Regions from separate parts of the Homo sapiens genome. Here region 2 is linked to region 1. Evidence: promoter capture Hi-C in 16 types of primary human blood cells and fetal thymus (Javierre and others, 2016). All regions are on one chromosome and are shown on one strand. Each heading gives the region's core, a stretch centred on a gene start or on the middle of the fragment in contact. The rest is flanking DNA. Distances are from core to core; before and after follow the strand shown. Region 1 holds the start of CCDC30 (coiled-coil domain containing 30). Region 2 overlaps FOXJ3 (forkhead box J3).

The links. The method cuts DNA at HindIII sites, captures the fragments that hold promoters and counts their contacts. A CHiCAGO score of 5 or more calls a contact.
Region 2: a fragment that was not itself captured here is called in contact with the fragment with the promoter of CCDC30 in region 1 in 2 of 17 cell types (total CD8 T cells and naive CD4 T cells); the score reaches 5.9 in total CD8 T cells.

The regions. Positions count from the first base shown.
Region 1 is chr1:42,461,131-42,466,479 of GRCh38, forward strand. It overlaps CCDC30 (coiled-coil domain containing 30), which reads left to right and starts at 2,156. Exons shown (of 21, transcript NM_001395517.1): 1 at 2,156-2,768. It overlaps PPCS (phosphopantothenoylcysteine synthetase), which reads left to right. Exons shown (of 3, transcript NM_024664.4): 3 at 1-106. RefSeq lists a silencer at 2,053-2,102. The HindIII fragment of the contact is 5,104 bases long and covers 1-3,554 here.
Region 2 is chr1:42,329,525-42,334,379 of GRCh38, forward strand. All of the region lies in intron 1 of FOXJ3 (forkhead box J3), which reads right to left. Among named protein-coding and RNA genes, the nearest start is that of FOXJ3, 3.3 kb to the right of the region's middle. RefSeq lists an enhancer at 4,686-4,855. The HindIII fragment of the contact is 1,167 bases long and covers 2,297-3,463 here.

The DNA of each region.
Region 1 (5,349 bases), core at 906-3,405:
GACTTAAAATACAATTCATGGTGTTTCATGGAGTAGGGAAGGGTAGCCCCTGTGTCTGTCTGATAATAGAAGTACAATAAATTTAATTGAGAAGATTTGACAGAAATTCTAAGACTGAAATACTTCATTAATCAGGAAATGTGACCTTGAACAGAGGAAAAATACTGCAGCAGTCAAGACTGTTCTGGAAGCAGCAGTCCCTTTGAACAAAAAAATTTTCTTAGAGACAAGGTCATGCTTAGTCACCCAGGTTGGAGTGCAGTGGTCCAATCATGGTTCACTGTAATCTTGAACTCCTGGACTCAAGCACTCCTACTGCCACAGCCTTCTGAGCAGCTGAGACTACAGGTGTGTGCCACCATGCCTGGCTAAATATTTTATTTTTCATAGAGACAAGGTCTTACTATGTTACCCAGGCTCTTTTTTTTTTTTTTTGAGCGGAGTCTTGCTCTGTCGTCCTGGGTGGAGTGCAGTGGCACAATCTCGGCTCACTGCAAGCTCTGCCTCCCGGGTTCACACCATTCTCCTTCCTCAGCCTCCCTAGTAGCTGGGACTACAGGCGCCCGCCACCACGCCCAGCTAATTTTTGCATTTTTAGTAGAGATGGGGTTTCACCTTGTTAGCCAGGATGTTCTCCATCTCCTGACCTCGTGATCTGCCCGCCCCGGCCTTCCAAAGTGCTGGCATTACAAGCGTGAGCCACCGCGCCCAGCCACCCAGGCTCCTTTGACAATGATTTTAAGTGAACTTCAGGTCCAATTTGCAAAACCCCAAAAGCAGTGGGCTCTGTCAGTGGCTGCAGTACTGAAGGGCAAGAAGTAGAATATGTTCTTCTCTGCATTCATAGCTTTATGTGGATGATGACTGTCATCTTTGAATGTACAATGGGGATATATGGGGTTAAAAGTAGAAGTGATCTTAATGTTTGTCTTTACCATAATTATTACCTCCCTTGGGAATTTTATATCCTGTCTTGTTAACGCTTAAAAACAATCAGTGTTCTACATGAAATTATTTAGTGTTTTCCACTTCAGTTTAATTTATATTCAGAGCACTTAGATTATTTACACAAGTAAAAATTCCAGGGGGGTGGGGGAGAGTGTGTGTGTGTGTTTTAATAGCAAATGGAAGTGTATAAAGAAAAGGAACATGAGTCAATGAGGGTAACTAAGAACCTGATCTTGGATGGAGGATCAAGGAATGTCTCCCTGAGTAGGTGATACTTAAACTGATAAACAGGAGTGAAGTGGGCTACAAGTGCTGGTGGTGAGCCTTTTAGTTCAGAAAAAAACACTTGCAAGAGGTCTAGTGCCAGAAGGAGAGGTTGAGGCACTTTATTATATAAAGAGTAAAATACGTCCGGATAATGCATGTAGAACCAGCAAAAATTTGTGAAGTATTCTCTTGGGGAACTAGAGTAAGACCAAGAAATGTTGTGTTTGGGATACCAGCAAAGCAAGGGCCCCCAAAACATGACTAAAATCGAGTTTGATAATTAACTAGAATTTTGCAATAAGAGCATCTAAAAAGATGATATAAATTGAGTATGTTAAATTTTGTGTCATTTATAAGTTTTTATTTTGCATTACATAGGTGGGGAAGATAACGTTCATCTTACCTGAATTTTCAGTGCTTAGGACTTCTAAAGGGCTTCAGCCTTAGGGACAATTCTAGTCAAGCCCAGTTTCTTCCTTTTTACAATAATAAGCTGGATCCAAAAATTGTGATTTATCTTACGTGCCCCACGTGGCTAGTGACACGATCTAGGCCTAAAATTCAGAGCTCTTGAGCTAGCACTTCCTGCCCCTTTAAGAATGAAGGAACTTGTAGAAAAATAAATCCAAGGTTAGTAGGCAGGGGCTCCAGCTGAGTCCTGGCGGGAAGTTCTTTGAGAGCTAGAACGCCCCAAGACAAAATGTATTCGCTAAGTCGCAAACGCTCGACATGTTACCATGGTTACAGCTGTCTCCAAAGCCAATGGAATGAGTTGTACTATCGATACGGCCGGGACAACTCCGCCCCCGACCCGAAGGCCAATGGTGTGAGACATAATAACAGTCTCCACAAGAACCACAGTCTCTGGTTCCACTGGCGTGCGTCGTCTCTATGGTTCCCGCCGGAAGGACGCGTCTGCGTCTCTGCGGCGAGCGCGGTTGCTATGACGCCCAGGTCTCCGTAGGCACCTGCAGCTAGCAGCTGAGCGCGTAGGGGCCGAGCGACCCCGGGACGCTCGCGGCACCCTCCGCAGGAAAATTTCCGACTTGGTTCTTGAGGTTCCTGCCTCAGCCCCAAGGAGGAAAGCACCCATTCTCCCCTCTTTTCCGCATTACGGGCCTTTTCTGCTTCTCCCCAGTATGGTCCGAAACTACAGGAGGGGAACCCCTCCTGGCCCGGCCTTTCTATTCCCTGGCTGGAGTGATTCCGCCTGAAGGAGAATTCGCCCGTTTTCCCCGGACCCAGCTGCCACAAGCATTTAGTATTAGGCTGCCGCTTATTATTAGAGCGGGCTTAGAACATCCTCAGCGAGGTAGGTCGGCGTTCCTTTTCTCACTTAAAGGTGAGGTGTCGAGACGCGCCCCTGGACAGACAACGCCCGAAGGTCCAGGCCACTACGAAGTCCACGGAGGGGCAGCTTTCCCCTACGTGTAGGCCCGCGAACAAAGAACTACCGTTTTCTGATTTTTTTTGGCCGATGTTCGTCATGCAGAACCTTGAATCCCGATGAAGATTTGGAGGCCTTTTGTATCCTCAACATCAGAGGTCATGAAGTCAGTTACCTTCTGCCTTTCAAGCTACAACTTTTTCCACTTCTCTCATCACTCCAAGCACCAGCTTTCTCATCCTGCTTATTTCACAGCCATTTTAACTTTTCCCTGTTCACGCTGCACATTATTGAATGTCCATTTGTCTGCACCACCTCTGTCATCTATAGACCACCTCCTTCTGCTTTCCTGCTACAATGCTTTGCGTACCTAAGTATTTCGCATTCTCCAGCTCTGCAGTCATTGGGAAGATTTTCTGTTTTTCTTTGCACTATGGCAACCTTTCAGTCTTGGGTAAACTAGAGACTAGGAGAAGTGCAAATTGGTAAATATAAACATTAAATACTGTAGGTCTAGTGTGTTTTGAAAATGGAAAAAAAAATCAAAATTGCAGTATTGGACCCATTTCAGGCTTACATAATGAAAGAAGGTTGTTCCTTGTTTCATTAAATTTTATTGATGTGTTTATCAATGTGAAAAGGGCATTCAAAGTGATCATGTAAGACAGGATTTCAACTTTAAGCCCATATGAACCCAACACTGGGGATATGATGTAATTTTCTGGAGAGGAGATGATTGAAATAGTACTTGTGCCTTCTTTTCCTGTCAATTTCTGAATCAGAAAACATTCTTTGTGATGTAAGCCAATAAATGAAAACAATAAGGAGTGATTGAAAATAAATATTTTTGGCAAGGGAGCAGACACAATTGTTCTAAAAAGGCTGGAACAGAGGGCCTTAAATATGGCATAAGATTAATTTAGATCCAGTGCAATTTTATTTTAGCTTGGAAAGCTTGACTTAATTTGTCTTACAATACGCATTCCTTGTTGAATCTTACTATTTCTTCTTCAGTATTCAGGTTTAAAAGTAAACCTATTTTGAGGACATACAGAACATACACATTTTAAACAGCTATTTGGGGCTACAATGATTTGGATATTTTGATTTCTCAGTCCAATAGAAGCAGTCGTTTGTGATGTCTCATGCTTAGAGCCAGGTCAAGTTTTTAAATACTGAGAAATTCAGCTTTCTCCTCTAGAATAGATCGGAAAACAAAAACAAGTTCTGCAGCCTTTTCAATCTTGCACATTAAATTGGAACTGGATAAAACCTAACTCTTGAAAAAAGTGTTAGATGCTATATTGTAAGGGGCTTTCCTTTCCTTTCCTCTTCTAATATGTATTTATTGAATAGCAAGGCATAAATTTAAAAACAATTTAACCTGGGCAAACATGGCAAAAACCTGACTCTACAAAAAATGCAAAAAATTAGCCAGGCATGGTGGAGCACTCCTGTAGCCTGGCTACTCTGGAGGCTGAGGTGGGAGGATCACTTGATCCTGGGAGATCGAGGCTGCAGTGAGCTATGATCGCACCACTGCGCTCCAACCTGGGCTACAGAGTGAGACCCTGTCTCAAAAAAAATAAATTCCTGTCATTCTAGGACAGTTTTTTTTGTTTTTGTTTTTGTTTTGTTTTGTTTTGTTTGAGACGGAATTTCACTCTTGTTGCCCAGGCTGTATTGCAATGGCGCGATCTTGGCCCACTGCAACCTCCGCCTCCCGGGTTCAAGTGATTCTCCTGCTTCAGCCTCCTGAGTAGCTGGGATTATAGGCATGTGCCACCACACCCTGCTAATTTTGTATTTTTAGTAGAGACGGGGTTTCTCCACGTTGGTCAGGCTGAGTCTTGAACTCCTGACCCCAGGTGATCCGCCCACCTCAGCCTCCCAAAGTGCTGGGATTACAAGTGTGAGCCACGGTACCCGACCTCTAGCACAGTTTTAAACCTGGGGAGTGGGGTGGGGTTTTGCCCCCTGTGAGACATTTGGCAATGTACGTAAGCATTTTTAGTTGTCACAACTAGGGATATGCTACTGACATATAGTTGGTAGAGATCAGGGATGCTGCTCCATATCTTAATATGCACAGAACTGCCTCCACAACAGCTCAGAATGTCAGTAGTGCCAGGGTTGAGAAACTCTGTCTTAACACATCAACAGTTCATTTTTTTGTTCTGTCACTCTTGCTTAGCTGTGTACATTTTTACATAGTTATGTACATTTTGCCTTTCTTTTTCACTTTATATTTTAAACATTTTTTACATTGCTACAGTGTTTTCAACTTTTGAAAAAAGTATACTAATTTTATTTGGGAATTGAAAAACTGTGCATAATATGTATTTTATTTAAGATGTGTGTGAGTTTTAAATTATATTTGTGTGAAAGGAGTGGAAAATAGAAGAAAGAAAGGTTACAGTGAAAAGTCACCTGACAGCATATTTCAGTTTTTGTGGCTGTGCTATGTACTTTGTTCCCTAGAGTCACTCAAAGACTTTGGAATCCAAAGCTCAGCCTTTGCTCAGAGGCAGGAGATGTGCTATGGCGTAAGATAGGGTCCTGGCCCCTGCAATGCAGTTGGAGAGTACCTACCAGGAGAAAAAACAAGGAGACTGCACCCATTCTCCTTGTCCTCTTCTCGTTTAAAATTCTTTGTCTCAGTTTGCTTTACCACCTTATTCTTTACATCTAGAAGTTTTTGGAGGCCTAAACCTACTTCAGGATGCACTTCTTTCCAGAGATTGGAT
Region 2 (4,855 bases), core at 1,630-4,129, 130 kb before region 1:
AAATGGAAAACAAAAATTCACAGTTAAAGGAAGGCTGAGGAGAGAGGTAAAAGTGAGCTTTAGCTGTCTCAAGCCAAGGTTTCTGAATAGTGGCAATGTGGAAAGCTAAGTGACTAACAAAGCCAACAGTGAAGATCAGTGAAAATAATGTAATTTCTGAGCTGAGAAGTTTTGAGCAGGGACAAACAAAAAAATGTCTAAACAATATGTATCTTTGTACACTGTAGTGTTAAGTCCACTTTTAAAAGAAATGCGGATGCGATGTCAAGTTAAAATTGCTGTTTAACTGTTTCCCCAACTACATTCAAAATCAAATCTTCATATTCTATCATGCCCTTACTTGAAATATTATCCTCTATTAATTCGTAACACAGTAAACAGAACAGTGTAGTGATTAAGAGCCACAGAGTTCTGAAAATAGACTACAAGGGTTCAAATCCTGGCTCTTTCCATTCCTAGCTATGTTCCCTTAGTCAAATCAACCTCTCTGTGCCCATTTCCTCATCTGTAAAACTACCGTATTTATAAAATTTACAACTACAATAAACTTATAAAATCTACGATATATTTATAAAACCTACTTATAAAATTTATAAAATATTAAGGGTTGTAAGATATGGATAATGAATGTAGAGTACTTAGAACACTTTTAGGCCCATAGTAAGGCTTCAAAAAATGTTAGCTATTATTATCATTACATTATCATCACATGAACTCCATGAAAGTTCTGAAAGAAAAGAAATATGAAATGATTTGTCTAAAACACAGAACAAACAAGTGGCAGAATCTAGGGAAAAAAATCTTCATTTTAAGTCCGGAAGAAAATCAGTGGGCTGACTGCAGTGGCTCACGCCTGTAATCCTAGCGCTTTGGGAGGCCAGGGTTGGCGGATCACTTGAGCCCGGGAGTTAGCGACCAGCCTGGGCAACATAGCGAAACCACTTCTCTACAAAAAATACAAAAATTAGCTGAGCATGGTGGCGCGCACCTGTAGTCCCAGCTACTTAGGGGGCTGAGGTGGGAGGATCACTGGGGCCCAGGAGGTTGAGGTTGCAATGAGCCATGATCGTGCCACTGCACTCCAGCCTGGGCAAGAGTGAGACCCTGTCTCAAAAACAAAACAAACAAACAAAAAAAAACAGTGATTCTTTGAGTCAGTACATTTTCCAGTCCCTCTAAGTCTCCAGGAAATTACATGAGAATTTTTAAGTTAAAACAGCAGCACAGAGTAGTGGAAATAGCACAAATATGAACTAAGAAGACCTACCTGCTCCACCAATTACTTAAGTGTACAACCCTAAGCAGGTCACCTAAACTTCAAATTGCTCATCTTTAAGATATTCTGCCTTTATCACAGGGTTGTTGAGATCAAATTAGAGAATGTATGAGAAAATGTATATAAACCAATAAAACACTATATGAATGTTCAAGGGCCATGTCTTATTCATCTTTATATCCCCAATGCTTAGCAAAATGCATGGCAGAGGTTATAATCTAAAAGAAGGCCATGTGAGGGGTTGGCAGGGTGAAGATTCAATGAAAATGGGGAGGAGTTTAAAAGAATTAAGAAACTTGACCAGGCGCGGTGGCTTACACCTGTAGTCTCAGCACTTTGGGAGGCCGAGGCAGGCAGACCACTTGAGGTCAGGAGTTCAAAGACCAGCCTGGCCAACATGGTGAAACCTCGTCTCCACTAAAAACGCAGAAATTAGCGGGGCATGGTGGTGCACGCCTGTAATCCCAGCTACTGTGGAGGGTGAGGTGGGAGAATCGCTTGAACCTGGGAGGCAGAGGTTGCAGCGAGCCGAGATGGCGCCACTGCACTCCAGCCTAGGCGACAGAGAGAAACTCTGTCTCAAATAATAATAATAATAATGAAAGAATAAGAAACTCAAATGTCCATCAACTAAAGCAATGGCTATCAACGTAGTATATACATACAGTGGAATATTATTTGGCAATAAAAAGGAATGAAATACTGATACATGCTACATGGATGGGCCTTGAAACATATGCAAGTGAAAGAAGTCAGACACAAAAGACCGTATGTTGTATGAAATGCCCACAACAGGCATTTGGAATTATCAACATCTCTACAAGATTGTAAGTACATTAGTGGCTGCCTGGAGGTGAGGGTACGGGGAGTGACTGCCAATGGGTACAAGGCTTTTTTTTGAAATGCTGTCCTAAAAATGACTGTGGTGATGGTTGCACAACTCTGTGAATACACTAAAAACCACTGACTTGTATACTTTAAATGTGTGAATGAAATGGTATGTGAATTATACTTCAAGAAAGCTTTTTTAAAAAAAAAAAAGAATAAAAGTTTAAGGAGAGAAGCGTTAAAGTATAAAATCACTGGCTTTGGAACATAAGTTTGTTTCTTTTTTTAAGGAAATACTAATAATTACCATATCAGATACTAATGTCTCTACAAATCCTGTGAAAAACAAATCTGGCATCTATTCTTACCCCTCCTTTCAATTTTCTCTCTAAGTTTACAAATTATCTCTTCTGCTTTAATTCAATTGTCTTTTCATTGTAGTCACTGTTTCTGAACTTCTACACCGCATTTGAAACTGTCAACACCCTGCCCTTGTAGAAAATCTTCCTATCCTGGAAATGATGCACTTTCTGGTTCTTCTCAGAATGCTATTAGCCTATTTCAAGACCCAAAATTCCAAACCTCAAAGCTCTTTCTTCATTATACTACTACCCTCCCAACACACATCTACTGATGTGTTTTACTAGCATCTATATCCCTGGTCAGTGCAAAATCTACCTTTCATCTAACCGTTCATTGTATATGGGAATAATTACATGCATAAGGTTAAGCAACTTGCCCAAAGTCCCTTCTGATTTTAATACCTTATTATGAAGATTTAATGAATTAAACAAACGTAGGCGCTTAGAATACCTGTCATACAGTAAGTAAATGTTAGCTATTATTTTATTCCTACAACCACTATCTTATATCAGACCCTCATCAGCTTATTCCTAAAATTCTCCATAAGCACTCTAATCAGTCTCTCCACTCCCAGGACACTCAGCTGAAACAAAAACCTTCCTCAGGAACAAGATGCATCATCTTACTCTCATTCTTTAGAACCCATTGTGGTACCCTATCAAACTAAACCCTCTATCCTTGAAAGATCCTCCATCAATACCCCCTCACCAATCCTAAACTCATTTATTATTATTCACCAACACAGATGATCTGACAGTCAAGCTCCTTGATATCATTTGTACATTGCCACTTCTCTCGCTTTGCACAGGCCCCTTCACTCTCCTGAAATACACCTCTTTCCCTTTGGAAATTTGTATCTTTCTCAAATGTCCCTTACACTTTTGACCTTGGTTGTACTGTTATCCCAAGGAGAAGTTTGATGCAGTTTGATAATTCTGAATGATGTACATGTTTCCCGAACAGAAAAAGAAACTCTGTTCTTTCGATATAAGTTGAAGCTTTCCAAGAGACCACGTATCTTATTCGTCTCTTCATACAGACTTCACACATAGATAACTCGGTACTTTACAGAAGTACACAAATGCTGACTTACCAAAAAAAAACAAAAAGCCTCAGTATGTATCAGAACAACATTCTCCATTTTCCACTGCCCCACCCATACTTAGCATAATGAAAAAATATAATCTAAAATCTATATTTAAATATTTTCATTCTACATAGAAGGAAAGGGAATATACGAACTGTACCAGATAAAAGGAAAAAAATGTCAAAAATATACTCAAAGAATGTACAATGTGAAAAAGTGAGAATGCAGGCCACTTTGGAATCTAGTAAGTGACTTTGAAACATTAAGTTTTTTTATTTTACCCAAACTAATGAACAAAAAAGAGCCAAAATAAACACGTTCTAGCCTCATCCAAAAAAAATCTAATGAAAGCATGAGAAACTTCCCAGTTTTGTCCTCGGCAGCACAAAACCAAGAAGATTCACCTCAATTCTGAGACACAAAAGCAAAAAGAGAAATCCTCCTATTTATCTAAGAAACTAAAAAACTTAATCACGTCTATATAATATATACCACTCAGAAAAAGAGAGGAGTTACTGCTTTTCTATAAATATTTGCTAGGGACCAGGAGGAATAGGCTTCTCTCACTGTTATTGCGGGAACAATCTGTGGTCTCAAAACAGCAAAACAGAAGATGGAAACCCTAATCTGGAAGAGACATTAAGAAAAAAACTACTCAAACCATGTTTCAAACCAGTTTCAAAAAAAGAGTGTGCAATGGGTACTCAACAGAGTAAGAGGAAAAGTGAAGTAAAAGAGCTTCTACAAAATAAGTGACTAGGTGAAACTAGTGCTGCCTTGTGAGAAAAAGAGCTATGCATATAACGCTCCTATGACATCACGCTTTTTCACTGGGAAACAAAATAGAAGGAAGAAAACACACACAAATAAATCTCAGAAAAAGACCAAAAAGGTGCCCACCAATCTCTAACTCCTTCAGGAATTAGAGTGAATGGCTCTAACTCATTCAGGAATCCAACCAGGGACAACACAGACGTGGAATGCACCAACACGGAATAGTAAAACCTTTGCTAACCAGACACACAAAAAGTAAAACAGAGAAATGAAAACTATACACCTGAATGCATCGGTAGCAAGCGCTTATTCTCTATAATTAAGCAACAGAGAAAAGAATAAGAGCAGCTAATGGAAGAGGAAAAAAGATGTTAATGAAACTAAGCCCTGTTATGTCCCCTACTGGCCTCAATTTCAGAGTACAACTCTCGATTCTTCATCTAACCAACAGCCGGCCTCGGCAAAGCAAACTGACCCTAACACCTTCCACGCCACCCGGAGGAAATCACAGAGGAAAAACCATCCCG